4 separate regions of the Homo sapiens genome follow, and all the other regions are linked to region 1. The links are contacts of gene promoters, found by promoter capture Hi-C in blood cells and fetal thymus (Javierre and others, 2016). All regions are on one chromosome and are shown on one strand. Each heading gives the region's core, a stretch centred on a gene start or on the middle of the fragment in contact. The rest is flanking DNA. Distances are from core to core; before and after follow the strand shown.

Region 1 (8,000 bases), core at 3,393-5,892:
CCTCAGCCTCCTGAGTAGCTAGAACCACAGGCATGCCACCACGCCTGGCTAGTTTTTAAATTTTTTGTAGAAATGGAGTCTCACGTGTTGTCCAGGCTGGTCTCGACCTCCTGGGCTCAAGCAATCCTCTTACCTCAGCCACCCAATGTGTTGGGATTATGGGCTTGAGCCACCATGCCTGGCCCATTTTGGGGATTTTTCTGTAAAACTGTATGTTAGAAACAAGTACTCATGAGAAATGGTTTCTGTACCAATTTTCATTTAAAAATGTATCAGATTAGGTCAGGCGCTGTGGCTCACGCCTGTAATCCCAGAACTTTGGGAGGCCAAGGTGGGTGGATCACAGGGTCAGGAGTTCAAGATCAGCCTGGCCAATATGGTGAAACCCTGTCTCTACTAAAAATACAAAAATTAGGCCAGGTGCGGTGGCTCACGCCTGTAATCCCAGCACTTTTGAGGCTGAGGCGGGCGGATCACCAGGTCAGGAGATCAAGACCATCCTGGCTAACACGGTGAAACCCTGTCTCTACTAAAAATACAAAAAAATTAGCCGCGCGTGGTGGCGGGCACCTGTAGTCCCAGCTACGAGGGAGGCTGAGGCAGGAGAATGGCGTCAACCCAGGAGGCGGAGCTTGCAGTGAGCTGAGATCGCGCCACTGCACTCCAGCCTGGGTGACAGAGCAAGACTCCGTCTGAAAAAAAAAAAAAAAAAACAAAAATTAGCTGTGCGTGGTAGTGGGTGCCTGGAATCCCAGCTACTCGGAGGCAGAGAACCGCTTGAACCTGGGAGGCGGAGGTTGCAGTGAGCAGAGATGGTGTCACCGCACTACAGCCTGGGTGACAGAGTGAGACTCTGTCTCAAAAAAAAAAAAAAAAAGTATCAGATTGGCTGGGCATGGTGGCTCAAGCCTGTAATCCCAGCACTTTGGGAAGCTGAGGTAGGCAGATCACTTGAGGTCAGGAGTTCAAGACCAGCCTGGCCAACATGGTGAAACCCTGTTTCTACTAAAAATACAAAATTAGCTGGGCATGGTGGCGGATGCCTGTAATCCCAGCTACTTGGGAGACTGAGGCAGGAGAATCATTTGAACCCAGGAGGTGGAGGTTGTAGTGAGCCAAGATACTGCCACTTTCTGGTACATTTTTTAAAAATTGAACTTTTCAGCAAAGCAAAACCAAAGCACTGTGCTATAAATGAAATGCAGTTCTTTATAGCAGTGTGAGAACACACTAATACAATTGAATTCTTTTTTTTTTTTTTTCTTGAGATAGAGTCTTGCTCTTGTCGTCCAGGCTGGAGTGCAGTGGCATGATCTCAGCTCACTGCAACCTTCAGCTCCTGGGTTCAAGTGGTTCTCCTGCCTCAGCCTCCTGAGTAGCTGGGATTACAGGCACCCACCACCACACCCGGCTAATTTTTATATTTTTAGTAGAGACGGGGTTTCACCACGTTGGCCAGGCTGGTCTTGAACTCCTGACCTTGTGATCTACCCGCCTTGGCCCCCCAAAGTGCTGGGATTACAGGTGTGAGCCACCACGCCAAGCCAATTTCTTTTATTTTTTCTTTTATTTTTTTGAGATGGAGTCCAGCTCTGTCACCCAGGCTGGAGTGCGGTGGCGTAATCTCGGCTCACTGCAACCTCCCCCTCCCAGGTTCAAAAGATTCCAAAAGAATTTTACAAAAACAAAATCCGGGTGCAGCCTGTGAGGGTCCAACAAAATGATCATCATTTGTTCAAGTACACTGTGTATGAAAAAGAAAACACAAAATATATATACAGTACACTGAACTTTTCAAGAAATACTTTTTTGAGATAGAGTCTAATTCTGTCTCGTCTAGGCTGGAGTGCAGTGGTGCAATCTCGGCTCACTGCAGCCTCCACCTCTCGGGTTCAAGCGATTCTCCTGCCTCAGCCTCCTAAGTAGCTGGGACTACAGGTGCGTGCAACCATACCCAGCTAATTTTTGTATTTTTAGTAGAGATGGGGTTTCACCATGTTGCTAGGCTGGTCTTGAGCTCCTGACCTCAGTTGATCCACCTACCTAGGCCTCCCAAAGTGCTGGGATTACAGGAGTGAGCCACCGAGTCTGGCCAGAAATACTTTTTATTAGGGAGAGGTTAGTATACATTCTGATCTTCAACCAATAAAGTAACCTTCTTGAAGTACTAAAAATACTTAATTTTCCATAAGGAGAACATTACATGGAGGGTTCCATGTTTTTTAGGTTTGAAACATTTTAAAAGGAAAAAAAAGGAAGTAAAGAATGAAATATTGATTAGAAAACATAAGAAATGAGATGAAACTCCATCTCTACTAAAAATACAAAAAAACTTAGCCAGGTGTGGTGGCATGCGCCTGTAGTCCCAGCTACTCAGGAGGCAAAGGCAGGAGAATCGCTTGAACCCGGGAGGCGGAGGTTGCAGTGAGCTGAGATAGTGCCACTGCACTCCAGCCTGGGAGTCAGAGCAAGACTCCATCTCAGGGAAAGAAAAAAAAAAGGCCCGGCACAGTGGCTCACGCCTGTAATCCCAGCACTTTGGGAGACCGAGGTGGGTGGATCACGAGGTCAGGAATTCAAGACCAGCCTGGCCAACATGGTGAAACCCCGTCTCTACTAAAAATACAAAAATTAGCCTAGCGCAGTGGCGGGCACCTGTAATCCCAGCTAGTCGGGAGACTGAGGCAGGTGAATCACCTGAACCCGGGAGGCGGAGTTTGCAGTGAGCCAAGATCGCGCCACTGCACTCTAGCCTGGGTGACAGAGTAAGAGTCCATCTCAAAAAAAAAAAAAAAAAAAAAAAAAGGAAAGAAATGACGCCAGCGTGGTGGTTCACGCCTGTAATCACAACACTTTGGGAGGCTGAGGCGACCAGATTACCTGAGGTCGGGAGTTTGAGACCAGCCTGGCCAACATAGTGAAACCCCGTCTCTACTAAAAATACATAAAATTAGCCGGGCTTGGTGGCGCATCCCTGTAATCCAAGCTACTCGGGAGGCTGAGGCAGGAGAATCGCTTGAACCCGGGAGGCAGAGGTTGCGGTGAGCCAAGATCACGCCACTGCACTCCAGCCTGCGCAACAAGAGCAAAACTCTGTCTCAAACAAACAAACAAAAGAAAACATAAGAAATGACTTTGAAACACTACTTGATTTTGTTAGTTTCTTCCACAAGGAATACATTTAAAAATTTAAGTTTTTATTCTTAAAATGAGTTCTGGAAGTAAAAGAGTTAACTCTGAGATGATTAAGACTTCTAAAATCCCCAACAGAAGCAACTCACCTCAAACAGAGTCACATCTCTGTAAGAAGGAAAACTTTCAACCACCAGGTGCATTAACTTCTGCGCACTATTCTCACTTTCTCGGACGCAGTTGAGAAAAGAGCCTCCAAACTTCTCCAGCAGAATTTTCCCGGTTTCATTGAGAATCCGATGCCTCTCTTCTACTAAAGGCATGGAAACGTCTGTGTCAGAACGAAGTATATTCCGAACCTGATCCAGGGTCACTGTCGCGTAGTACGAGGCACTAGTTATTGGTATCCCTTTAGTGAAAAAATAAAATTCAGAGGACCAATGTCATACTTCCATATGCATTAAACCCTTGCTTTTACAACATGGAATTAATATGAAACCAAATGAGTGGTATAGGAATGCACCAAAAGTGGAAGAATAAAAAATCTAAAGCAAAACTCATTTTCTACTTGTTCATCTGTACTTATTCACCCATTTCTAACTATTGCAATATTACATCAGATGTATTCTGAGTAAATTGCTTTATAACATCGGTCCTTTTGTTCTTCAGGTGTCATTCAAATGGCATTCTTTATAAAACTGACTTTTATGCTACTGTAACTTTTATGCTGCAATGATAAATATTAACATCATTTTCCACTAAAATATGCCCCTTTTCATACTTCTATTTTAAGCATAAGGACTTGCAACGAACTTCAGGTTCGCTTTCCATTATTCCATCTCCCAACCCGCTCCTTGGAACTCCCCTACACACACCCCAAGTAAATGGAAACCTCAAAGGCCGTTAGGTCCGATGGCAAGTATGGCACCAACCTTCGTCGAGGGCTCTGTTGACGGCGGCGCACAGGGACCAGTACCCACTGTATGTTTTCCCTCTGTACCTCACCACACACTTGTGCTCGTCCTGCTCCGACCAAAAGGAGAAGTTGAGCGTGTCTGTCACGAACACCCAGTTGACCGCGGCCTCGTCGGCCGCCCTGGGGTTCAGCTCATGAAGGGCTTTCCACCCCTCCACGCGCAGCTCTGGCCCCGCCGCCTTGGCCAGCAGCAGCTCTGCCACCCTCCGTACGCCTCCGCTGTCAATAAACACATCCCGACTGTTTTCTGCAATGAATTTAGAGGATTCCCTGGGATTTAGGAGCCCGTCCATTCTGCCCTTTGGGACCCGGCGGGCCAAACTCTTCCCGCCCTAGGCGGGTCAAGGTCCACTCTGCGCCTTGCGCTACTACGAACCGCGCGATCACAGGGCCTAAACAAGGTCCCGCCCTGCCAGGGAGTGGCACCGAGAACTTAGTGCAGCCAAGGTAAAGGTTCTCTCCCGCGGCGTTGCCCTGATTAGGAAACCAGAGAGACCCCGGGGCAGCTCGCTGGGCAGAGGCCGCAAGCACTTCCGGGAAAGCGGTCCCGTTCACGCCCTCTCGGGCGCGCTCTCAGGCTCCGCTTCCGGTTCCAAAGGTCTGGAAACTGCTAAGGGTCCGGCGTTCACCGGCCGTGAGTTGCCCACCCTGGGAGGTGCATGGCTTTGCCATGTTTTGCCTTTTCTCACCCCGCTTCGGACAGGTGGGACTCGAAGACGGCGACTCGCCGCCTTGCCCTGGGTCGCGATGCCCCCACCCCGCTCCCACCCCTCTCCTTTCCCGCAGCCTGAGCAAGACGCCTTCGGCAACGCCCCGCATCCGGGCTCCTTGGCCTCGAAGAGCATTATGGCCGTAGATCTGGGTGCTGAGGACTGAGCCACCCCCAGACTGCGACATGGGCGGCGGTGCCTCCTTCCCCAAGCCCCAGGGAGTGTTTTTTTGTTTGTTTTGTTTTTTGTTTTTGTTTAAGTGAATTCCTGGCCCATTTGGCCGAACGAACGTTAGGATTAGTTGGAAGGTTTGGAGAAATGGATGAGGAAACAAATGTGTTAAATTGTTAAATTAACCTTGTGTGCCTGGCAGTGTACTTAAGTACTAAATCTCACCTAGGCTGGGTCATGACGAAAGCGGCTATTGTGATCCCGCTTTTGCAAGTGAAGCTGAGTGGTTCATTGATTAACCCCCATCACAGCAATGGTTTGGGCTAGGATTTAAACCTTTGATAATTGAGCCCCCTAAATCGAGGGCACTTTATGAGCCAATCACCAGTGCCAACCATTCTGGTCAGTCAAATAGTGACTATATCAGTGGCCCTACTGAGAAGACATTAAAAATGAGGAAATAAGTGTCTCACAACTGCAAACTTACACAAGTACCTTATATTAGGAGAGAGGTGTAGAAGCCAATTTAGTGATGATCCAAATTTGACTGGTGATGAAGTTTTAGTATAAAGGTATGCATTTTTTTTCCTTTTGGAGACTTAAATCTCCATGGATAACGTTCACATCTTTGAAAATCACCTATTAAAAATAATCATCAGTACCCATCTCTAGTTACCGACAGGAAAATCTTGGTATTTTTGGAGGATTCGGAGCTTTTAAATTTGTTTGTTTGAGACAGAATCTCACCCTGTCGCCCAGGCTGGAGTGCAGTGGCATGATCTCAGCTCACTGCAACCTCCACCTCCCCGGTTCAAGTGATTCTCCCTGCCTCAGCTTCCCAAGTAGCTGGGATTATAGGTGTCAGCCACCACACCTGACTAATTTTTGTATTTTTAGTAGAGATGGGGTTTCCCTATGTGGGCCAGGCTGGTCTCAAACTCCTGACCTCAGGTAATCCACCCTCCTCGGCCTCCCAAATGGAGCTTTTTTTTTGAGACGGAGTCTCACTCTGTCATCCAGGCTGGAATGCAGTGGCACAGTCTCGGCTCACTGCAACCTCCGCCTCCTGGGTTCAAGCAATTCTCCTGGCTTAGCCTCCCGAGTAGCTGGGATTATAGGTGCCCGCCACCACGCCCGGCTAAGTTTTGTATTTTTAGTAGGGACAGGTTTTCACCATGTTGGCCAGGCTGATCTCGAACTCCTGACCTCAGGTGATCCGCCTGTCTTGGCCTCCCAAAATGCTGGGATTACAGGCATGAGCCACCACACCTGGCCCCAAATGGAGCTTTTAAATTTGACAGCTGTTACCCTAGAAAAGCAGATCTTCATCACTCCAGTTTCTTCATTTTGGTAAGAAAAAGGAACTTTAAGGACTCCACTATGATACGTTTTCCAGAAAAAGTCACTAGTACATTAATACAGTTGTTAAGGAAATGTAAGTCTGTTGGCTTGGGATTTTTCCTTTCTACCACAGCACCTAAGTCTTGGGAGACAAATTGATTTAGCAAGGAAATCTAGCAATCTGCAAAATAATCCAGAAGGGTAAATAACTTAGACCCTTTTCTCTCACTGAGGTTTATTGATAGAAAAAAGTCAAATGCCGGCCAGATGTGGTGACTCACGCCTGTAATCCCAGCTTTTTGGGAGGCCAAGGTGGGTGGATCAGTTGAGTGCATGAGTTCGAGGCCAGCCTGAGCAACATGGGGAAACCCTGTCTCTACCCAAAACACAAAAAATTAGGTGGGTGTGGTGGCATGCGCCAGTGGTCCCAGCTACTAGGGAGGCTGAGGTGGGAGGATCGTCTGAGCCCAGGAGGCAGAGAGATTCCAGTGAGGTGAGATTGTGCCACTGCACTCCAGACTGTGAGAAAAAGTGAGACCCCCCCCCGTTCCCCCTCCCACCCAAAAAGTCAAATTCCTGCCTATGTTCAAGGTATTTAAGCACTAAAAGTAGTATACACAAGAATAAAACATGCCTCCTTCACTCAACTTTGAGATAAATCAAAACTGTGTGTGTCTGGGATTTTTGTTTTTGTTTTTTTAAGTGTGTCTACAAGATGCTGAGAATACAAAAATGAGTTGGGCTGGCCGTGGTGACTCAGGCCTGTAATCCCAGCACTTTAGCAGGCCAAGGATCACTTGAGCCCAGGAATTCGAGACCATCCTGGGCAACATGACAAAACCCTGTCTCTACAAAAAAAAAAAAAGAAAAAGAAAACATTAGCCAGGTGGCTGGAGCCTGTAGTCCCAGCTACTCCCAGAGGCTGAGGTGGGAGGATCCCTTGAGCCTGGGAGGCGGAGGTTGCAGTGAGCTGAAATGGCACCACCGCACTCCAATCTGGGCAACCCACTGTCTCAAAAAAAAAAAAAAAAAAAGTGAGTTCTTCACCTACTGAACATGGTTTTCCTGCTTTTTCCTTCCCAATAGATACTGTGATACTGTTTAGGAATCCATCTCTCAACTGCACTCCCTTGTAGCTTAGTTTAGCATCCTCAGACTCAAGGGTAGTCAGGACTGGTAATATCACCCTCTTGCCAGCAACTGGATTAGGTTTATGCATATTTCCCAGTTCACCTCAGTGAGTTGCAAGATTTGCAGAATGCTTGCAGAAAAGCTTTTCCTCACTCTTCCAGGAGAATTTTCAGAAGTGATTCAGGCTCCCTCTGGACCTGATTGACCTTGAATGTAAGGCCTGGAATTGCTGCAGTCCTTTTGATGGCAACCTGAGTTTGTTTTTTGGTTTTGTTTTGTTTGAGATGGAGTCTCGCTCTGTCGCCCAGGCTAGAGTGCAGTGGCCCGATCTCGGCTCACTGCAAGCTCCGCCTCCCGGGTTCACGCCATTCTCCTGCCTCAGCCCCCCGCCGCCCCCCCGCCCCGGTTCTATCAGCCGCCACCATGCCCGGTTAGCCAGGATGGTCTCGATCTCCTGACCTCATGATCTGCCCACCTCGGCCTCCCAAAGTGCTGGGATTACAGGCATGAGCCACCACACCCGACTTTGGTTTTTTTTT
Region 2 (8,000 bases), core at 2,185-4,684, 1.7 Mb after region 1:
ATGGCCCTGCTGACAAGTTGATTTTGGACTTCCAGCCTCTGGAACTATAAAACAATAAATTTCTGTTGTTTTGAGCCACTCAGTATTGGACTTTGTTATGACAGCCCTAGAAAACTAATATAATAACTTACATGCAATCACTTACAATGAACTCATAAGACCTTCCTTTCTACAGCTAATTCTTTATTCAAAATTGTAAAAATCTTAGAGTACTTTCAGAAACTCTTTCTCCCTACTGGTAGTTGTTTACAACTGTTTAAACCAAATAAAAGTACTTCTGACAGTTTCTAATCCTAAAATAGAACATTTTTTTCTGTTGATGTTTATTTTTCAACACTGGAAAGCTGGGATATGAACCCAGTTCTTTCAGATGGCAACACCCATTGTGTATGTTTCTTATTATTTCCAGTAGATTAAAAGATATAGTCAAGTTTGGTGCAAAGTCATTTGTAAATTTTTACCAAATGTTATTTAAGAGTTATTTTTAGAACTTTACCACAAAGAAATTTCTGAAATTCTATAACACTTATAAGCCAGAGTAAATTAATGTTACAAAAGAATTTTAAAATGTTAGATTTATTGAAATGCATAGTTTGTAGTTAATTAATTAAAATTTCTCAGTATAAATAATTTATACTTCCTCATATATTTTTCCAGTCTTCATATTTCCACAAAGAATACTACAAGCAACAATAATTCAAAAAGTAGTCTGTGGCTTAGATTTAGGAGATGTGAAGGAAAAAAAGCTTAAGTCCCCAGGTACTAATGAAGTGACATCTACTTTCAATTCTGGGTCAGTCCTTGCAATGACTTCCAAACCTATGGGGAAACTCAAAAAGATACAGTTAAAATAACCTCCTGAGTTGCTTCCTTCTAGATTAACAGTTTTAAATCCAAAACCTAAAATTAAAAAGGAGAGGAAGCATAACCCTCCAAATACAACTCTTCCTCAATCGTCTTCCCATTAAATGTGGAGCATTGTTTAAAGGGAGGAAGAAATACAACAGAAAGCGTTAGATGTCTGAGGTTTTTAGTTAATTAGAGGAGAGACCCTCAGATTACTAAAAATGATAAGAGATCAAGATATAGCAAGTTTGGTCAATGAATGGCTTGTTCTTTTTAAAGTAAAAATAAAGTAAAAGATTATTTTTCCTTTTTAAAGTAGAAATAGAAAAATAATGCATAATTCATCTTTTCTCTGATGTTTTAGATCCACTGATTTCCATAAGGTTTTGGATATACCCCATGTGGTATATTATAAAGATCCTTTTGAAATGCTCCATTTCATTTCCCCTGGAAACATTTTATATTAGATTTGACAACTTGGTTATAATAGAGCATAAAGTACATCTTAAGTAGGAGATCATGGCCATTATATAAAAAATAAATTATAAAATGCAGTACCGATTAAAGGGAGAAACAGCAAATAAATAAAAGCATAACTAATGTACTTTTAGTGTTAGCTAGGAATCATTCATACACACACTACTACATTGCTTATCTAAACTGTATTACATTAATACAGGCATTGTGCTAATTACAGGAATCATATCATTACAACCTTATAATAGAGATGCTAAATATTATTACAATTTTACAGACAGGAAACTGGGGCATAATAAATTAAGTAACTTACTTGTATCCTAGGGCCAGTAAATGATAGAGCTAACATGCAAATCCAAGTCTGTCTGCCTGCAGAGCCCACTCTAAACCACCATAAGACACCAATATTCTGTGTTACTGATTGTGATACAAACATTTTGTTTGCTTTGTTACATTTCATCAGATACTCTGGGATTGTGTATAATTCTTACACAGCTGTAACTATGTTGTCATCCCACCAAATAATATTTAATAAATAGTCATATGTGCAAGTAAGCTCAGAAAATATTTTAAAATATTTGACCCTTATTAAGAAAGGGTGAAAACACTGGAAATGTCCTGAACCCTATTTAAGAGTAAAGTCAAATCAAATAGTTCATGTGGACAAGTTCTTCATTACAAAAGATTCACAGCTAATAAACACAGGAAAAAAATAAAACTAGATAAGTTATTATTTTCCAACCACTAATGAAATAACAGATACAGGCAGTGTCATGAATGACTGCTAAATCACTAAGTGAAAAGTGGATGGGGACATTTCTAATGGGTAGATAACCTCAACTCAATTATCTTAAGTGACATAAAACAAAGTTGCCAGCTCCACCTATGAAATATTTTTGACCAGAAAAAACAAACCAGAACCCCAAATCTAATCAAGCCACAGTTTTATCAGTCTACAGAAAATGTAAGGGATATACTCATATGTTAAATAACTTCAGGATATAGTCATTGTAAGCCAGAACGTGTGACATTTTAAAAGACCTATCACTGAAGACCTTCAACAAATAAAACAAAACCAAAAAACAGGGAAACTTTTTTTTATTTCAAAAGATTATGAGACATATCAATCAAATATAATGTATAGACTTAATTGAAGCCCTGAACAAGCAAGCCAACTGTAAAAAAAAAAAAAAAAAAGCATTTCCTAATCAGAAAATATCAGATATTAAGAAATTACCGTTAATATTGTTGGGCACAGAAAAGACAACTGCGGTAACACTAAAAGAGAAAAGATCTGTAATTGACAGTGATCATATTAAAGAATTTACAGCTCAAATATAATGGCTGATATCTGCTTTAAAATACGCTAGGAAAAAAGAAAAACAGAAAGAAAAATAAAATTAAAATGACAGATTTTTGATAGTACAACTGGGTAACAGGTACATCAGAGTTCATTATATTATCCTCTCTACATTTGTGTAGGCTTGGAAATTTCCTAAATATAATGAAGAATAATGTATGCATCTTGTTTGGATTCTGATTCAAACAAACCAACTAAAAAGGGGCTATTTTGAGACAACTGGAGAAAATCAAACAACAGACCAGATTTTAGATTGTATTAAGTAAGTATCAGGAGGGAGAGGTGGGAGCATCACTTGAGCCTAGGAATTTGAGGCTACAGTGTGCCATGATCATGCCACTGCACTCCAGCCTAGGCAACAGAGAGAGACTCCATTTCAAAAAAAAAAAAGAAATTAATAATTTTGTTGGCTATGATTGTAGTATTCTGGTTATTTTTAAGTCCTTATTTAGTAGAATTATATACTGAGGTATTTAGAAAATAAATGATAGTATTCAAAGAAAATAATCCAAGAGAAAATATCTAGGATCTGCTTATAGAAATACACACACATTTATGTATATATAAAATACCTGAGATTTCTTAAAAGTACCCCAGGAAAAACAAACAAACAAAAGTGTGGAGTGGAAACAAATGAAACAAAAATGGTGGAATGTTCAGAATTGTTAAACACAACAAGTAATTAATATAACTCAATATAATCAGTTTAATATAAACTCTATTTTATGTATGTTTTAAAAATTCCACAATAAAAAAAAATTTTAAAGAAAGACCTCTAAAATGGCTTAAGAAAATATTAAACTGTAACCAATAAATGAGACATGGCTTTCATTTTCTGAGGCTGAAAGGCCTAGGAATGAATAAAAATACATACATACATACATGTGTGTGTGTGTGTGTGTGTGTGTGTGTGTGTGTGTGTGTATACATACACACACACACACACACACACACATCTCAGGATGGGGGAAAAAGAATGATGTGATTTTGACAAAATAGAAATGTATCAATTTAAGATTGTTCAGGTATTCATAAGAATGAAAAAGTCATTACAAGATTGTAAAATTGGGTGAGAAATATAGTAGGCACTCAATAAATGTTTCTGAATGAATACTCTATAGATAATCTTTTTTCCTTTTACAGTATCTAGAAATGTTCAGTCTAAGTTACTATAAACATTATATTCAATGAAGTCAAAACTGTCCAATTTTGAGATATTTGTGAAGATTAAATTTTATACTAAAGAAAATCTTTATCATGATAAAATCATTATTTAAGAACTAAGAAATGAAATAACCCTGGAGACAATTTAATTCAACCTGCTCATTGTACATATCAAGATAATGAGGCCCAGAGTAACAAAGGCTATACCTATGTTTACATTCAAAACATTTACTCACTTTATAAGACTGGAATTCTTCTTACTAAATGGTCCAATGATTTTAAACATCAGTTCCACAACTCCATTTTTCCCTAAGGATACTGAATTCACAGCTGAGAGGGGGAGAAAGAGATGCAAAATTATTTTAAGGTTTGACAACCAAAAATGTGTATACTTAGTGATACATAGGCAAAAACATATACAAATTGTTTAGTAAATGTCAACTCAAGTCACCTTAAAGTCCATCTAAGCTAACCACATGAAGAAATAGTGTTTTTTGTTTTTGCTTTGTTATGGAAAGTGCAGGGAAATTCTGAAACGAGTTATATGCAAAAAAAAAAAAAAACCACTATTATAAAAAAAATTCTTCAGTTACTCTATATTTCTCTAATAAATTTAGTGAACCTCACTGAACACCAGGTTATGGGGATTCCGAAACAAGAATAAAATCTCTGACCTCAAAGAACAAAGTGTAGAGAGAATGACAGAAACAATAAACAAATAATTACTAAATTACTTTCAAAATAGATCAAGAGTTGTAGACTATTTGGATTACACCATTGAGAAGTTCCTAATTCAGAGTGAGACAGACATTTCTGGAGAAAATGATGCCTAGGCTCAGTCTTTAAAAGTGAGTAGTAGTTAGGGCAGGAGTAGAGGTAAAGGGGTAGATGTGGCTCTGGACACAGGAATAATACAAACAGAACGAAGACAATGAACATCACAATGTGAGCAGTTACATAATGTTAAACACAGAGTATCAAGAAAAGATACACAAATAGGAAGATGAGGTAGAAAAAGATGAGAAATTATGAAGGGCCCTAGAAGTTGTTAATTCTTTTGACTATGGGGAATCACGCAAAAGGAACATATCAGATGTGAATTTTAAATAAATAGGTCAGAATTCAAAGAACTCTGAGGAAGCTGGTTTTGAAAGACACATTAGGAGGCTATGGTCTAGGTAACAGGTAATGAGGACTTTAATTAAAGCAAGTGTAGCAGGGAAAAAGATGGAACAATTTCAGTATTTAATATGGAATATACAAATAATTACCTAACCAGAAAACTGTGCTAAACATTTTTAATTCTGAACAGATGTTATTAAATATATTGTAGAACCAGGGACAATGGCATGTGCCTGTAGTCTTAGCTGCTTGGGAGGCTGAAGCAGGAGGATCGCTTAAGGCCAGGAGTTCAAAGCCAGCCTGAGATGTATAGCAAGACCCTGTCTCTAAAAGAAAATCGTTTAATAAACAATTTTTAAATTATAGATAAGCCATCTGCTAGCCTTCTATTGGTTAATCCAATAAAATGCCACCAAAAATGTAGCTCCTAATATTTCGTAGGATGATCTTAATTTTCTCTGTTTATTACTCCGTTATCCCTTCTAATTTCATGTCTATACTGTATTCCTTTGACCTTGATTGAAGTATTTGGTGGTTTAGCTGTTTTATTTTTACATTTGGGGGTTTTTGTTGCATTGTTGTTGTTTTTGAGACAGGGTCCTGCTGTGTTGCCCAAGCTGGAATGCAGTGGTGCAGTCATGGCTCACTGCAGCCTTAACCTCCTGGGCTCAAGAAATCCTCCCACCTTAGCTTCCTGAGTAGCTGAGACTGCAGGCACACATCACCACAACTAGCCAATTTTTTCCTTTTTTTTTTTTGTAGAAATGGCATCTCACTATGTTGCCCAGGCTGGTTGCAAACTCCTGGCCTCAAGCGGTCCTTCTGCCTAGCCTCTGAAGTGCTGGGATTACAGCCATGTGCGACTGTACCAGTGTATTTTATTTTTAATCCAATACAGTTTTATTTTTTAAATCAACTGCTTTTCTATTTTCTAATGCATATTTTTCCTTTTACCTTTACTATTTCATTTCTTGACTTTACTGGTGTTTATTTCTCTGTTCTTAACTTCATTGGTTAGATATCTAATTCATTTGTTTCCTTATGTTCTTTTTAATTACATGTTAGTTATTTAAGTGTTCTAAGCTGTTTTCCACAGAGCACACCTTTAGCCATATTTTAAAGGTACTGATATACACACACAGAGACATATACATAAGCTTATGTATGTTTATATATTACATATATGTATATACGCAATATACACACATATCTAGCACTCTATCATTATTTTGCAATGATATTCTGCAATAACATATATTCTGCAATTCAATCTTAGGTTCTTTCATTAACCACTTCAATTCTGCAATCAGAGAATAGAAAAAAAAATCCACACCTCATGCGTGGAACCTCGTGTTAGTGAGAGTGTGTGTTTTGGGAGACATTTTATCTGAGTCTGTCTCTCTGTGAGCCCTCTTCTCTCTAGCTTCTCAGAGGTTCCCATACTAGTTATTTTCAGTTCTGCTACTTCCCTATTGATTGCTGAAGAGAATTAGCTCCAGGTGACTATGCTACTGCATCCTTTCCTTCTAGGCTTTCTCCTCTCATCTGTGACAGTCTAAAGAGGCACAGGAGTTTTTCCAGCTACCAATACCCTCATATTCTTCCACATCTTTTCTACAGGCTGCCTAGTCATCCTCCTCACTCCTATCCTTTATAAATTGGAGAAATTAGTTAGAATGTTCAAGGTTTTACCAACTTAACCTTTTTTTTTTTTGGTTGAGACGGAGTCTTGCTCTATCACCCAGGCTGGAGTGCAATGGCACAATCTCAGCTCATTGCAACCTCCACTTCCCAGGTTCAAATGATTCTCCTACCTCAGCCTCCCAAATAGTCAGGATTAGGCGCCCACCACCATGCCCAGCTAATTTTTGTATTTTTATTAGAGACAGAGTTTCCCCATGTCGGTCAGGCTGGTCTCAAACTCCTGACCTCAGGTGATCCGCCCGCCTTGGCCTCCCAAAGTGCTGGGATTACAGGCATGAGCCACCATGCACAGACCAACTTAACCTTACCCCACATCACTTTTGTTGTGGTTGGAGTCAAGAGTTAAAATGAGCCATATTAAATCTTCTCTTTCCTTTTTCACAAATATCAGAGGTTTACAGAATCAGGATACTTTAAAATTCTTTTTGTGTAACTTTACAACACTGAGTTAACTAAAAGCCACCTAAATACTCACAGTTGGCAGAATATACTCGTAAAAGCTGAAGGCAAGGTAGAACCAAGCGATGATTCTGCAAATTCTGCTTGACCAAATTCAGGGTTATATTCAGAGCCCCATTAATTCTAGCCTTTACTCCAAATTTTTTATCTGTTTAAAAAAAAAAAAGACAATTTATGCACATACAACTTTTCTTTTTAATTTTTTTTTTTTTTTTTTTTGAGACAGAGTCTTGCTCTGTCATCCAGGCTGGAGTGCAGTGGCTCCATCTCAGCTCACTGCAACCTCTGGCTCCCAGGTTGAAGCAATTCTCCTGCCTCTGCCTCCTGAGTAGCTGGGATTACAGGCACCCACCACCACACTGGGTTAATTTTTGGATTTTTAGTGGAGACGGGCTTTCGCCATGTTGGCCAGGCTGGTCTGAAACTCCTGACCTCAAGTGATCTGCCCGCCTTGGCCTCCCAAAGTGCTGAGATTACACGTGTGAGTCACTGTGCCTGGCCCACATGTAAGTTTTGAATGAAATGATGATATTATAAATCAGTGATGTAAATTTTAAATTTACATTATGAATTAATTTTATGAAATATAAAGTTGGCCTGAAAAGAATAAAATTATAATCCTTTTTTGTATTATTTTTAAAATAAAACATCCCTTTTATTTTAAAACATTAGTTGAAAGAATGTACTAAGAAACAGACAGGGGGATAGGGAAGGAGGATGGAGGCTAGAGTAGCCCAACACTTAGACTGTCATTAAAAAAAACTGAACTGCTCCACTACACATATACATTTGTCTAGTTCAACACACTTCCCAGAACACCAACACAGAGTTAAAAGGAACAAAATCCAAATGTCCATTACAATAATAC
Region 3 (8,000 bases), core at 3,736-6,235, 1.7 Mb after region 1:
ATTTTGATACAGTTTTGCAAGACAAAAATTGGTCCAAACAGGAAAGAGTCAAATTAATCCCTCCTCCCCCATAAAAAAAACCCAGCAATAGGCTAAACAGCTAAAAAAAGAGACCATTTTTCTACAGATGCTAGAGTAGTCCTCTCTCTATAAATAAAGCAAAATACAGACTTTCTAGGCTTCCAGAGGTACAATGAAACTCCGAAAACTTACTTGCCACCTTTACCTAACATCTTATGTAATATGACAATAATTTTATATTTTCTCAATAATACTTTTTTCACTTCCTTGTTCAATTAACTGAAACCTAAGAATCATTATGCAAACACTAATTCTCACAAAAACAAATCCATTATAGAATATTTTCCTACTGTTTTTGTATCCCCAAAAGACTGCTGACAAAGGATAATAATGCATTTTGAAATAAGTTGCCACAAGAGAGTTTCAGATCACTTTCCTTCAATTTTGTAGATTTCAAAATCTAAGGCAGAAAGGTTAGATAAAATCTTTCTGGTCAGAGAGAGTGAAAATAAGTTACTTTAAGGTCCTTTTCAGACCAGTGGATTTAAACCAATATCATCTACCCCTTTAATTGCATAGTCATTCATGGTAAAAAGATGTGGACAAAGTAAAACCTAAAATTACATATATATTTATTTACCCAATTTTTGTTTTACAACTGTAGTATATCATTTATAAAGCTAACTAATTACAGAAATTTATACTAACCTTAAAATTTTGATCTAGGTCATCTTCATTCTCAGTTTCGTTTTCAGCTTCTACATCAATATCATCGTTGTCATCACTTTCATCTACTACGTCATCCACTATGATACAAAATGTGCTATAAGTAGGTCAGAGGTAAGCATTCTACAATATGCATAGCCAATGGTAGAATGTGACTTATATAAAGTATTTCAATCACCAGAGAAAAAGTAAATGAGATTTCTTATTTAACATCTCTCTAAGGCTGTCCCAGCTGTTGACAAACCCATGGGACCATATAAGAAAGTGCTTCAAAATTTGGAAAGCACTGTAAAGGTGAATTTTACTAATGTTCTCAGTTTTTAAAAATAATGTCTTATGTTGCGATAGCCTGAATGAAACATCCTGTTTTCTATTTATTATAAATTTCAATGACTCACTTCATCCCTTTATAATTGACCCCCTATTTGTTTCAATGACAGTCATGTGCCACATACTGTGCTATATGCTGGGAATTTTTTCAAAAGATGTGTAAATCGGGTTGTCTAATCTTTTTGTTTCCCTGGGCCACACTGGAAGAGGAAGAACTGTCTTGGGCTACACATAAAATACACTAATACCAACGATAGCTGGTGTGCTTAAAAAAAAAAAATTACACACACACACACAAATCTCATATTGTTTTAAGAAAATTTATGAGGTCAGGCGCAGTGGCTCACGCCTGTAATCCCAGCACTTTGGGAGGCCAAGGCAGGCAGATCAGCTGAGGTTGGGAGTTCGAGACTGGCCTGACCAACATGGAGAAACCCTGTCTCTATTAAAAATACAAAATTAGCTGGGCATGGTGGTGCATGCCTGTAATCCCAGCTACTCGGGAGGCTGAGGCAGAAGAATTGCTTGAACCTGGGAGGCGGAGGTTGCGGTGAGCCAAGATCGCGCCATTGCACTCCAGCCTGGGCAACAAGAGCAAAATTCTGTCTCAAAAAAAAAGAAAGTTTATGAATCTCTGTTGGGCCACATTCAAAGTCAATCTGGGTTGTATGTGGCCCATGGGCAGCATATTGGACATGCTTGGTGTAAATATAGTCTCTTCCTTCAGGTAGCTCATGAGGTTAAAGAGCAGAAAGGAGTAAACATGTAATTATAATACCAAAGATAAACACTAATGAAGCCATAAACTCCAAAATACTATGGGAAAATGAGGAATGAGGTGGCTCATGAGGTCAAAGAGCAGAAAGGAGTAAACACGTAATTATAATACCAAAGATAAATGCTAATGAAGCCATAAACTCCAAAATGCTATGGGAAAACGAGAAATGCAACAACTAATTGTAAACTGCTTGGAGACAAGGGGCTTGATGCTGACCACTTCACAGAATAGGTGATATTTAAGCAGTATCTTGTAGAAAGTATAACAGATTTCTATGTGAATGTAATGGTGGGTGAGTGTGGCTTCTAAGAAGAGGAAATAATACTACTAAAATAAGGAAGTGAAATGATATCTTTAGAAAATAACAAAAGGTATGACTAGGATGAAGAGTATGCTTATGAAAGTACTGAAAGGAAAATAAAGAATTAAAAAATGAAGGATGTAACATAGTAGGCCAAGTAGTACTGACTTTTAATATAAAGAAGATAGGCACTGAGAATTTTCAAGACAAGAATGGCTTAATTCAATTTTAAGAGGTGAGAGAGACAGCATACGGGTGGAAGGTGACCAACAAACAGGAAAAGAAAAAAATTCCATGTTGTAGCAGGATAGCACAGGGGTTCTAGAAACAGAATACCTGAATTCAAATCCTAGCTCCCGAACTTACTAGCTATTTGACCTTGAGCAAGTTACATCAATTCTTTGTCTTCGTTTCTTTGTCTATAAAATGGAGATATCTACTCATAGTGTTTCTGTGGGCATTAGAGAAGTTAATATACGTAAAGTGCCAGGCAGAGTATGTGTTACACAAATGTTTATTACTGCTGTTGCTTGAGGGACTGTGCTACTGGGTCTCTTTGTAACAGCAGTTTAGTCGACCCTAACTAATACAGGTACAAATATAAAAACAAATCACCTCAAATTCTTAGATAGCAAAAAATAAATATTCATATTTCACATGGTAACCTGGGTTGATTTATACTTATGCCCTAACGGCAGTTGGTCATGGATAAACAAGGGAAGAACTGACATTTGGAAGAAGAGAAGGAAGAAAATAACTCCTAGGAAAAAAGAAAGGGATTGAATTAAGGCGCGGTGGTTCACACCTGTAATCCCAGCATTCTGGGAGGCCGAGACGGGCGGATCACGAGGTCAGGAGATCGAGACCATCCTGGCTAACACAGTGAAACCCCGTCTCTACTAAAAGTACAAAAAATTAGCTGGGCGTGGTGGCGGGCACGTGTAGTCCCAGCTACTCGGGAGGCTGAGGCAGGAGAATGGCGTGAACCCGGGAGGTGGAGCTTGCAGTGAGCTGAGATCGCGCCACTGCACTCCAGCCTGGGCAACAGTGCGAGACTCCGTCTCAAAAAAAAGAGAAAGAAAGAAAATCCTATTGCAAGTAGGAAAAATGACTGCTTGGAAAGAAAGGGAGAGGAGAAAATGCAGTTCAGCATCAGAGAGAAAATATGTTTTCAATTTTTAGTCAAACCTTTCAAATATTTTCCTTTGTAGGATGTTTTCCTTAGGGTTTATACTCCAGATGTGAAATGCCATGTAGCTTAAGAGCGTCTGAGACCTTCTCTGCTATTTCAAAGATCCATTCATTATACCAGTACCAATAATTAACAATATTAATTATTATAGCCAATCAAATTAAAACCAGGGAATATAAACCAAAATTCTTACTGATTTTCAAAATGTCCTTGGCTTATAGTAAAAACAGAAATATAGGAAACAACTTAAATGTCTATCAGTAGGACACTAGTTAGATAAATTATACTACAACTGTATGATGTAGTCATTAGAAGGAAAGAGTCTGCACATTCTATAAGGACTGGGAAAGTACATCACGGGAAGTTTATTTTGTTGTTGCTATTGTGCCTATAAATGTGATCTACTTTCCCTTTATGTTTTCTATGTGTTTTTTGTTGATACACATATACACACGTAGAGGAAGGCTATTTAATTTTATTCATTTTTCTTGTAAATAGTACTTTACTGTTCCTTTGCGTAAGCCACTTTTTTACAATTGATTTGCTTGGATTTTCTATATAGACAGTAATATCCTCCACAGATACTGATAAATTTATCTCACTCTTTTAACGGTTAAGACCTTTCTTTTCCCTATCTTACTGATTTAGCTAGAGTTTTCAAAACTACGGTAAATAATAATGGTTGAGAGAGGCATCCTCTAACATTTCATTACTATTTATGATGTTGGCTATTGATTTGAGCTAGATAATACTTAGCTTGTTCAGGAAATATTCCTGTGTTCCTTAAAAATTTTTCTACACTGATATGATTTTTATGAAATCTTGTCATGGCATTTACTGAGATGATCATTTGGTTTTGTCCCTTTGATCTACTGATAATATATTTTACTAATTAAAGTCTTAATATTACAATAAACTTACTTTCTTAAAAATCATCTTTACTTGGTCAAGGTGTCCTAAACGTAAACAATACTGCTCAACTAAATTTGCTAATACTTTAGGATTTTTATATTTATTTTCATGAGTGACAGTGATCTGTAGGTTGTTTCAGATTAATCTTACCAGATTGTGTTTTCAGCATCATGCTAGCTTCTAAACTTTCCTTTTTTTTTTTTTTTTTTTTTCTTGCTCTGGAAAATAAAGTGTAGGACAATTTCTTGAAAGTTTGGGAGAACTAATCTATGAAGTCATCACCATTTGGTGTCTTCACTAAAGAAGCTTGATTGCATATTCAATTTCAAATTTTTTACTATTTAAGTCAATATTAGTTATTCATATTTTCCTAAAATATTGTCCATTCCAATCACACAGTGACCCTTGAAAAATGTAAGTTTGAACTGTGCAGGTTCGTTAATACACAGATTTTCTTCTGCCTCTGTCACTCCTCAGATAGCAAAACCCCTCCTGCCCCTCCTCCTCCTCAGTCTATTCAATGTGTAGACAACAAGGATGTAAACCTTTATGAAAACCACCTCCACTTAATGAACAGTAAATATGTTTTCTCTTCCTTATGACTTTTCAAATAACATTTTCTTTTGTCTAGCTTACTTTGTTGTACAGAATACACGTAACATAAAAAATATGTATTAACTGTTTATGTTATCAGTAAGGTTTCTGGTCAACAGGTTACTAGTAGTTATGTTTTGGAGGAGTCAAAAGTTCTATGCAGATTTTCAACTGCACAGAGTCGATACTGCTAATCCCCAAGTTGTTTTAGGGTCAAGTCTGTATTCAAATGCATTCGCAGGAGTTGCCTTTAACATCTACTTAGACTGATTTAACCACCCCTATTTACTTTGCCAAGAATGTAGAGGTATATTAAAATCAACCACCAACACTGTTTCTACCAATGTCTTTCTGTTATTCAAATGATTATAGTTTTGTCGACTTTTAGTATTTGGCACATGTGTTATCTAGCTTGCATAAAATAATCTTCACTGCCTTGTTTTAATCATTTTTTATTCTGTATTCGTGTTTTGTTTAACAATAATACTTTCCTTCTCACCTCTTCTGGGCTAAGGAATAACACATACATATTTGCTAATCTGTTTACTTTCAAGCTTTCTATCCTGCTGTCTTAAGAGACTTCATATGTACCAGCTAGTCGGATTTTGTTTTTTAACCCAATCTGGGAGTCTCTTTCCTTCAACAGGAGTATTTCATCCATTTAGACTTATTACTGAAACTGATCTGCTTGTCCTTGCTTAGCCTTTAGTGCTCTCAGGATATTGTGCATCTTTGAAATTTCCTTGCTTTTACACAGCAATGATGGACCCCTATAATTTTATATCAATTTTCAAAGTGTCCATAGTCTCCAAAGGCCACCCATGTATTTCTATGGGTCAATGGACTCCTGTTTAAGGATCTCTGTTCCAGATGTTACCTTTACATTTGGCGAATATACATTTGGATTATTTGTATAATTTTCATTTTAGAAATGCAAGAACAGTATAATATTAGGAAATCTATCAATATAAATTTTAGCTCATTTATGTAAATACCCACTTTATAATAACTGTATTATGTATCTTTTGCCAATAATTAGCTAACATGTTTCATAATAATACTATAACAACTATTTAGTATTATATAGTTAACAGATTATAATGTTTAATACAAATACTCTTAGGTAACGTCTACATTCTTGACATCTCTAATTCATCATCTGACTGGCTGGAGTAATATTTCACATAATTACTTCAGGAAGGGAATACCTGGATAATATACTTCTGTACCCAAACATACCTAAGAATATGTCACCTTCACATATGGTGACAACTAATAAAGGTCCAGAAGTCTTGAGTCAGAACCCTTTCCTTCAAATCTCCATAGATGCAGCATTTAACATTCAGAAGAATAAGTATCAAGGCCAGCTCGATTCATTTATTCAACAAACATTAAATGCACTTATTATGTCCCACACAATCTAATGGATGCTGAAGACAAAATGAAAACAACAACAGTCCTATTGTGATATATATTTGATCTTTGTCCCAGGTTCCTGGCACACAGCTGCTAAATCCCTTGGAATTTCCTAGGTAGAGGAGCATCTTTTGTTCTAATGATGTGACTCTTTGTGGGCCCCTTGATAACTTCAGGATAGAGGCTGGTCACTAGAAAGATCAAGGCATGATCAGACAGTTGGAACTTCAGCCCCACTCCTCAACCTCTGGGGAGAGAGGAGCTGGGGACTGATTTTATCAAAAATAGCCTTATAATTAAGCAATCACACCTACATAATGGAACCTCCATAAAAACCCTAAACAATGGTATAAAAGCTCAGAGTTTTGGCCGGGTGCAGTGGCTCACGCCTGTAATCCTAGCACTTTGGGAGGCTGAGGCAGGCGGATCACAAGGTCAAGAGATCGAGACCATCCTAGCCAACATGGTGAAACCCCGTCTCTACTAAAAAATACATAAAAATTAGCTGGGCGTGGTGGTGCACACCTGTAGTCCCAGCTACTTGGGTGGCTGAGACAGGAGAATTGCTTGAACCCAGGAAGCGGACGCTGCAGTGAGCTGAGATCGCACCACTGCACTCCAGCCTGAAGACAGAGTGAGACTTCATCTCAAAAAAAGAAAAAAACAACACACCACTCAGAGTTTCTGAGTTGGTGAACACATCATGGTGCTGGGAGGGTGGCATACCTAGAGAGGGCATGGAAGCCCCACACCCCTTCTCTTATACCTGGCTCTATGCATCGCTTCCATTTAGCAGCTCTCAAATTGTATCCTTTATAATAAACCCATAACCATAAGTAGAGTGTTCCTGAGTTCTGTGAGCCATTCTAGCAAATTATCAAACTTCAGGAACAGGTTGTGGAAACCCCCACCCCCATCAACTTTATTGCCAGTAGGTCAGACATACAGGTAGTCCAGACTTGTAATTGTTATCTGAAGTGGTAGCAGTCCTGTGGGACTAAACCCTTAACCTGTGGGGTCTGTATTAACTCCAGGTCTTCAGTGTCAGAATTGAACTGAATTGCAGAACACCCAGCTAGTGTCTGGAGATATGGAGAATTGGTTGGTATGAGGACAAAAGACACATATTTGGGGGTCAGAAATGCTGTGAGTAAAAGAGTTCAGACCTATCCTTGTGGACTCACATTCTAGCTGAGGAAGGTAAATAATAATAAAGACTGTGAAACATATAATGAAGCCTGACATGTGAGAAAATAATGGAAAACAAAGCAGAGGCAAGGGCATGTAGTCCCAGCTACTTGGGAGGCTGAGGTGGGGGGGATCTCTTGAACTCAGGAGTTCGAGACCAGCCTGGGAAACATGGGGGGAGGAAGGAGGAGGAGGAGGAAGGAATAATGGAAAACAGAATGAGAGTATTTTCCTAGTATCTATACACTTGCTATTAGAACCCTCCTCTCCCATCTGAATCAGGAAGGCTTGTCAGTCAATGTAAATATGCATTTCTAGTCCAGTGACTCATTGGTCTGAGAAGCAGGCATCAAAGGAACTAAAAGAAAAATATAATTTCTTGTTTGTTCCCGTGTTTGGTGAATTTACTGCACTAGAGGTCGGCTTTCTCTATCCGTCAATCCAGACACTAAATAAAGAACTTGCTGGGGCCTATCCCACCTCCTTCCTGGTGTTACTACTGGCCGCAGCACAGGGAAGACTCACCAGCTTTCCACCAGTGA
Region 4 (8,000 bases), core at 2,927-5,426, 1.7 Mb after region 1:
CTAACATACAGAAATGATAAATCATCAAGGTGATGGATATCCTAAATACCCTGACTTGATTGTGACACATTCTATACATGTAACAAAATATCACATATACCCCATAAATATGTGCAAATATTATGTATCAATTTTTAAAAGTTAACTATATAAAGTAGTGAAAGGTTCAAGTTAAGGTCAAATAGCACTTTAGATTTGTCTCATGTGTTCTAATGTTATAAAAAACAATTATTATTACATTACATTTAAAACAATGTATTCTCATATCACATTTAAAACAATCATATTAAATGCTGGTCACAGTGAAGTTAGCTATATTTGGATATTCTGACTGTAACAAAAACCATTTGGACAAAGTAAGTTGCCCCAGCAAGAATCAATCAAATGAGGTAAACTCAGACTCAATAAACCAGTCTATTCAACCTGATATAGTATGGAAAGCCTATATCTGAGCAAGATTTATTCATTAGTGAAAGGATAAACCTTCATGTATGTAAAACAAGTGTGCTTAAAACTGTAAATTTTTTGCCTCAAATATAGATAATCAAAATATTAAATTGCCAGAGTGCCAATGGCACTAGCCCCTAATAATATCCAAGTAAAGGCCAAAGTTTTATTGAGAACATGGTTAATATTATGTGCAAATACAAAGAAAGATGAGGTGTTTTAGGTCATAATCATTAATGTACTATAAATCACAGATTTGTAAAATGTTGGAGTTGATGTTAACACCCTCATTTAACAGATGAGGAGAACAAGAAAAGTTTAAAGTGGAGCTCTAATAAACCTGAAGGCATCTATCGTAAGCTGCATGTTATTTACACCCAATGACTCTACGTAGAAAAAAATACATGCTTCTAACACGTCTAGTATTACAGCTGCGATTTCAGATTCAGATTCAGGTGGCTGCCATTATCCTCCAGTCTCAGAATTTGATTTTTCATCCCAACCAAAGAAGAAATAAATAAATTCAATAAGTAGCACATATAAAACCACACATGACCCAGGCCTTCAGCATTACTAGAAGACAGAATATAACAAACTTTAAATTGTTTATAAATAGTAAAATGAGCAAAGATATAGAGGATGGAACAACAGAATTGGGGTTGAAATCTTTAAAGTAGATTTTAGAATAAAAAATATTTAATGAGAAAAAGGAGGAATTTTATAATGACAAAGTCACAATTCATAATGAAAATATAATAATACTTAATATCAATGCATCTGATAAGATCAACCTCCTACATAAGGCAGAAACTACAGAAGATATAAGCAGAAATCGACAGGGACATACTATTGATATAGTCTTCAAAACACCACTCTCAGAATAAGATAGAACAATTGAACAAGAAAACAAAATATAGAGAACCAAATGACATAATCAATGTGGCAATTTTTACATCTAAATGTCAAATGTCTCATCCTGATACAGATGAAAAATATATCTTCTTATGTGAAGAAGATATATTCTTTATTATCTTCTTCTCAACAGCACATGATACATTCATAAAAATTGATAATATATATGACAATATATTATCAGCAAATTTTAAGCAAAGATATCTTCTTTGCTTGGAATTTGATGATAATATATTAAGATATAATATAAGATGATATAAGTAATATATCTTCTCAATAGCACAATACATTCACAAAAACTGATAATATATTACATCACAGGGAAAACAACACCAAATTTCACAAAACAGAAATATTACAAACTCTGGTCACAGTGTACTAAAACTAGAAATTACAAACAAAATGAAAAAAACAAACAGGGAGGGAACCCACGCAGGAGGATGGAAGGAAGAATAATTTGGGATATCAGACCCTCAATAGGGTGGAGGAAGGCATCTGTCCAAATAGACAACAGGGAGATTATTACATAAACTGGAATTGATCAAACAAGTTAATATATTACGGACAGTGGGGCCCAAAATTATCTCTGTTGGAGAAGAAAGTTGTAAATATGGAAAGAAAACAAGAATAAAGCCTGTGTTATTTGCTCGAAAGTTAAGGTATAAGTATAATCTCATGGAGTGTATGTGTGTTTGTGTGATTATATACACACATACATAAATATGTACCTACAAATATGGAAACCACTACAAATGTGAATTACTGTGTAAATATTATGTATGTATTAAATATACTCCCTAATTGTTCATTGAGATAGTTTGTAAACAGTAATAACCCAATAGCAATGTGTATACCAAGTGTACAGATCTTTTTTTTTTTTTTTTTGAGATGGAGTTTCGCTCTTGTTGCCCAGGCTGGAGTGCAATGGCATGATCTTGGCTCACTGCAACCTCCACCTCCCAGGTTCAAGCGATTCTCCTGCCTCAGCCTCCCAGGTAGCTGGGATTACATGCAGGTGCCAGGCTCATTTTTGTATTTTTAGTAGAGACGGGGTTTCACCATGTTGACCAGGCTAGTCTCAAACTCCTGACCTGGTGATCCGCCTGCCTTGGCCTCCCAAAGTGCTGGGATTACAGACGTGAGCCACCGCGCCCGGCCAGATCTTGGTTTTTAAACATCATTCACTACTAAAGTAAAATGGCACTCTTTGAAGAAATGGCAGATTTCATTCAGGGGTAGAGAAAAGCAAGATGGGCCTTGTGCCAAAAAGCAAGGGCACCCATAAGGAATGACAGGGATATCTCAAAAGGGCACACACACCAGCATTAATGGTATCCCACTGGCCAAATCCTGGACAATTTGAATATCAAAATAAATAATGATAGCAACAAATTATAACTCATTGAGTCAAATAGGAAACCCAGTCTATACTGATAATACATTAAAAGCTTGAGAAGGAACAAGATATTTAGATAGTCTCAAAGTACCTCAATGTATAACACTAATTACAAAGAGAAGAAGGAAATGTAGGAAAGCCACACACCTAAATAATATTAAACTGTAAAGAGCACCCCAAAAGGCAAAAATGTATGAGGAACATTTGTCAGGGGGACTAATCCATTCTAGGGAGGCAGAGGAGACTTGAATTAACTAACGTGGGCAAAGCGGTGAGAATGCTACAGACTAGACTCCAAAATTGTACTTTATTGCCTGGTTCCAAACATGTTCAATTTATGTAAGAAGGCAGTTGAAAATCCTCAGAAATCTGAGAGAAACAAAGATGGAGAGAAAGTGAAAGAGAAGCTTGGTACTGAAGCTCCAAGTCACTAAAATGCAAGACTGCCATCTGGTGGTAATTTCAGCAAATCCCTTCCAAGTAATGGGGGGGTAAGAGGGGGTGATGGATTGAAACAGACACAGCACTATTTAGTGACACACATTCTCAAATTCAGTATTTCAAAGGCAGTATTCTCTTTACAATTGAAAATACAGTGTGAAACATAAATATTTTTAAACTGCTTAATTTTAAGATCATTCACTTGTGAAAACCACTAAGTATTCAATAGAATCACTTTTAAAAAGCTCAAAGAAAAGGACAACTTGAAAGAGAAGCAACTGCCAGCCTGTTCCTTTTTGGGGACACTGCCAAAGAACAAGACCTCTATTGGGCACATTTTCTAGAATCCAACACTTAAATAGTACCCCAACCGGCACGCCCCAATCAAAAAAAAAATTACAGACAATAAGCTACTCTCCTAACTGATACTACTTCCTCATTTCAATCATGTCTGACAATTAAATAAATACCTCCAGATGAAGAAGTTTCCACTGCACATACTTTCTTTGGTCATCAGCCCCCACCCTTAAAATGAATTATTGCTAGTTATAATTGCTTACAATGTTAAATTCTAGTTTACCAAAATATTGGTCCCTTTCTTTTAATTCTGTTAATGTTAAGACAAACCAAGATTTGCTTTATGTTGTACTGACCTAACAAATCTAAAGATAAGTTTAATAAAATATTACATCTACCTAAACAGCTCCCATAGCTTCTACTAACTTCCTAGTTAAATACTTACAAATACATGGAAATAAGAAGAAAACTCACAATAGACAACTTATCATCAGAATCTGGAAGGAATCTCTATTAAACTTAAGGCAGATGGAGCAAGACTGAAAAATCCAATGCAGAATATGCCTCGTGATCTGTATCTTGTGGTTTAGGGGCTTTTCTTTTTTTTTTTTTTTTTTTGCATTTTACATTTTGGATTCCACAGCTAAAATAAGTGTCACACTAAATAAAAAATAAAGAAAACAATAAAGAAGTACAAAAATAGAAAGCATAAAAACCCAAACACATCAATTGTAAGAATTTTAAACAGGTTAAACTCCTCTATTAAAAGACAAATGATCAAACAACAAAATCCAACCTCTTATTTATGAAAAAAAAAGCAAACATACATCAAGCAAATTCAAACCAATATAAAAACAGAATTCAAGGCAAAAGATGCTGAATGAGATAAATGTGATAATTTTATACTATTAAAGAGATATGCAAAAGGAAAATGGAAAACTTACAAAATTCTGTGTGCCAAGTAACATTGTATTAAAATAGAAAAAAAAAGTTTTTAAATGAAGGCTTGACAGAAACACAACATAATTGAAAGACTATTAAGTATTTTTAAGTCTTAGGTAGATAGAGAAGACAAAAAATAAACAAGGATATAGAAAGTTGAATAGATGTATAATATTAAATATGAAACAATATATTTTTGGGGGACAGAGTCTCACTATGTCACCCAGGCTGGAGTGCAATAGCACAGTCTCAGCTCACTGCAACCTCCACCTCCCGAGTTCAAGCTATTCCCCTGCCTCAGCCTCCTGAGCAGCTGGGATTACAGGTGTGTGCCACCAAGCCTGGTTAATTTTTTGTATTTTTAGTAGAGATGGGGTTTCACCATGTTGGTCAGGCTGGTCTCGAACTCCTGACCTTGTGATCTACCCACCTCAGCCTCCCAAAGTGCTGGGATTACAGGCATAAGCCACCATGCCCAGCCAAATATGAAATAATAAGAAATCTCTCTCTATATATATTGGTCTCTACCCCCCAGTTCCTGGCTCAGAGCTCCTAAAACCCTTGTCATTTCCCAAGCAATGGAGGTGCCAGAAACATCTTTTGTTCTAATATTTGGTCTTTGACCCCACTCCCTGACAAAGAGCTTCTAAATCTCTTAGAACTTCCTGGTGATAGAAACAACTTCTATTCTAATGAGGCAGCTCTTGGTGTACTCTTTGATGGGGATTGGTCACCAAAAAGACCAAGTCATGATAAGAAGCTTGGAACTTTCAGCCCCAAACTCCATCCTCAAGGGAAAGGAAAGGAGATGTAAACTGAGTTAATAATCATATCGATGTGATGAAGCCTCCATAAAAATCTCCAAAACACGGGATTCAGAGAGCTTCCAAGTGATGAATGCATCCACATGCCAGAAGGGTGGGGCACTCCAACTCCATGGGGAAAAAAGCTCCTGTACCCAGGACCCTTCTGGACCTACCTGTTCATCGGGCTGTTCATCTGAATCCTTAAATCTATCCTTTATAATGAACTGTGAATCGTAATTCAGTGTTTCCCTGAGTCCTGTGAGCTGCCATAGCAAATTATCAAAGTGAGGAGGGTTATGGGACCCCCTGTTTGTAACCAAGTCAGAGAGAAGTATGGTAACCTGGGGACCCACTACTTTTGACTGGCATCTGTAGTGAGGGGCAGTCGTGGGAGACTGAGTCCTTAATCCTTGAGGTCTGCACTAACTCCAGGTAGTTTGTATCATAACTGAATTGTAGGAAGGACACCCAGTTGGTGTCTGGAGAGTAGAAGAACTGGAATGTGTGGAGAAAATAATCCCCACACATTTGGGCACAGAAGTGTGGGAAGTGGTGTGAGTAGTAGGAAGAAAAACAGGTTTTTTTTTTTTCTCCTCACTAAACAATGTATGTTACATTATGTTGCCTAAAAAGAATGAATATTATTTTCCAAGTGCCCATGAGCACAAAACTGACCAGATATTAAGCCACAAAAAATTACTGCAAATCATAAATTCCACATCAGTGAACAAAATGGATTAAAATTTGAAAGAATGAGAAAAGTCTTCACAAAAATAATACAACCAACTAAAATGTAAACTCTTGCCTAAATAATTCTAATCTAAAGGATACCACATTACATACAAGTAATATAAAAAATAACAAGGAGATCTTAATATTAAAATTTGAAAGGGAAATACAGAAGTTGTAATCAAGAGAAAATTTGAAACTTAAATACTTTGATCAACAGACAAAAATAAATTTAGGTAAACATACCAGAAGTTAGAAAAAGAAAAAAAAATCAGCCTGCAGAGAGGTAAAGAGAGAAATTAATAAGTATAAAAAATTCCAATAGAAATAATGAATAAACCAGCTTTTTAAAATTATAAAACAACAAAATAAGTTTTAAGTACCAAAAAATTGGAAAAAACTAATCCAGAGAATAAGCAAATATACATATTGCAGATAGCACACAAATTTCTGCTACTGAATTTTTAAAATCTAAATGTCACTGACATAAAAATATATAATACAAATTATCAAGACTCCCTCAACAAAAAATAAAAAACTAGTCTAGACTGAGTTATAGAAAACTCTGAAAAAGTCCAAAAGCACCCCCTCTCACCCAATTAAAGGGTACAGAATCAGACAGTTTTAGAGGCACATTTTTTGCAAATTTCATTAAAACATATGTTATTTAAACTGCTCCAGAACATAGGGTGCAAAAATAAAAGCCTTTACATTTAAGTGTTCAAAGTAAGATCAGCCTCCTTCCAAAACTAGACAAAGATAGTTCTCGAAAAAGAAACTGACTTGTCTAACTTATGATGTAAAACCTTTAAACAAAATTTTAACAAATCAAAAATAGCTGTATCATAAAAGATCAATTCACACAGCCAAGCTGACCTATTCCTAAAATCCAAGGGTGGCTTAATAACATGAATATTATTAACATAATATAACACATCCAAAGGTTATAGACTATATGGTCACATTACATTCATTGATAAATGCAAAAAAATTCTTAAATCTGATTTTTTAAAAAAAGAAATTCTTTATTTTTATTTTTAGAAATAGAAAAATATGTATCTCAAAACAAGGATATGCTTAATGTAAACACTAGCAACATTCCCATTGAAGTTAAAATAAAATACAAGGATGCCCAGTGTACCCCTTTAATTTAAACATTGTTAAAATTCTATTCAAAAACAATGAAAGACACACAATATAGCTATGAATCACAGAAATTCTAGGTATCAAGAAAATCCAAAGTACCAACTCAGAAACTGTAACAACTAATAAAAAGTTCAGCAAGAAGGTTGATTTTCAAGTAAATATATAAAAATCAGTAGCTTTCTTAATAGAAGTAATGTTTGAAAATAGGAGTACTCTTTCACAACAGAAACAAAGGTAAACAGAAATATAAAACAATAAGAAAACTAAAAAACATAGGTGAAGGCATAAAAAAACTTGAATCAACAAAACAAAACATCACGTGCCTTAGTAGTAAGACTGGATATAAAATATTATGCCTCTCCCAAACTATTCCACAAATTTAATCCAATGGAAATTTTTGGTATTTGATAAAATTATTGTGAATCATATTCAGAATAAACTATTCAGAAAAAATAGGTAGAAAAGTCTGTATATCGTATTTGAAAATAACTACAGGATGTTAGACTATATTTTAAAGTCAAAATAAATTAGAAACACAGTGGTACTAGATCAACAAGAAACCCCCAAACATAATTAGTGTGTATGTAGGACCATAGATTATGAGAACTGCAGTGTTTCAAACCAATGGGGACATGTGTCTAAGAGGTCAAAATAATTGAATTCAAATTCAAAAAGTGAGGAATTATAAGCAAGTTATGGTGGCATTTTATCAATCAGGTTCTAATCTGTTTTTACTAACCTGACCATTGTCTGTAACAGCCAAAACAGAGCAACAATGTTTAACGGCTTCTGAACGGTATTTCGTACCTTTCGTTCATTCGTGGCTCAGGTATGCAGTTGTAAATGTGAAATGTCTAACAATTCAATAAATTCATCAACGACAC

Evidence for each region. The method cuts DNA at HindIII sites, captures the fragments that hold promoters and counts their contacts. A CHiCAGO score of 5 or more calls a contact.
Region 2: a fragment that was not itself captured here is called in contact with the fragment with the promoter of QNG1 in region 1 in 2 of 17 cell types (non-activated CD4 T cells and neutrophils); the score reaches 6.3 in non-activated CD4 T cells.
Region 3: a contact is called between a fragment that was not itself captured here and the fragment with the promoter of QNG1 in region 1, in 2 of 17 cell types (monocytes and total CD4 T cells). The highest score is 6.9, in monocytes.
Region 4: a fragment that was not itself captured here is called in contact with the fragment with the promoter of QNG1 in region 1 in 5 of 17 cell types (total B cells, naive B cells, total CD8 T cells and 2 more); the score reaches 7.4 in total B cells.

Annotation. Positions count from the first base shown.
Region 1 is chr9:83,952,100-83,960,099 of GRCh38, forward strand. It overlaps QNG1 (Q-nucleotide N-glycosylase 1), which reads right to left and starts at 4,643. Exons shown (of 4, transcript NM_032307.5): 1 at 4,065-4,643; 2 at 3,282-3,541. The coding sequence starts at 4,401. The HindIII fragment of the contact is 8,080 bases long and covers 1-7,601 here.
Region 2 is chr9:85,665,402-85,673,401 of GRCh38, forward strand. AGTPBP1 (ATP/GTP binding carboxypeptidase 1) reads right to left here. Exons shown (of 26, transcript NM_001330701.2): 7 at 7,149-7,280; 8 at 4,084-4,177. Among named protein-coding and RNA genes, the nearest start is that of AGTPBP1, 73 kb to the right of the region's middle. The HindIII fragment of the contact is 5,380 bases long and covers 745-6,124 here.
Region 3 is chr9:85,645,592-85,653,591 of GRCh38, forward strand. It overlaps AGTPBP1 (ATP/GTP binding carboxypeptidase 1), which reads right to left. Exons shown (of 26, transcript NM_001330701.2): 12 at 730-827. Among named protein-coding and RNA genes, the nearest start is that of AGTPBP1, 92 kb to the right of the region's middle. The HindIII fragment of the contact is 842 bases long and covers 4,565-5,406 here.
Region 4 is chr9:85,607,064-85,615,063 of GRCh38, forward strand. All of the region lies in intron 17 of AGTPBP1 (ATP/GTP binding carboxypeptidase 1), which reads right to left. Among named protein-coding and RNA genes, the nearest start is that of AGTPBP1, 130 kb to the right of the region's middle. The HindIII fragment of the contact is 2,033 bases long and covers 3,161-5,193 here.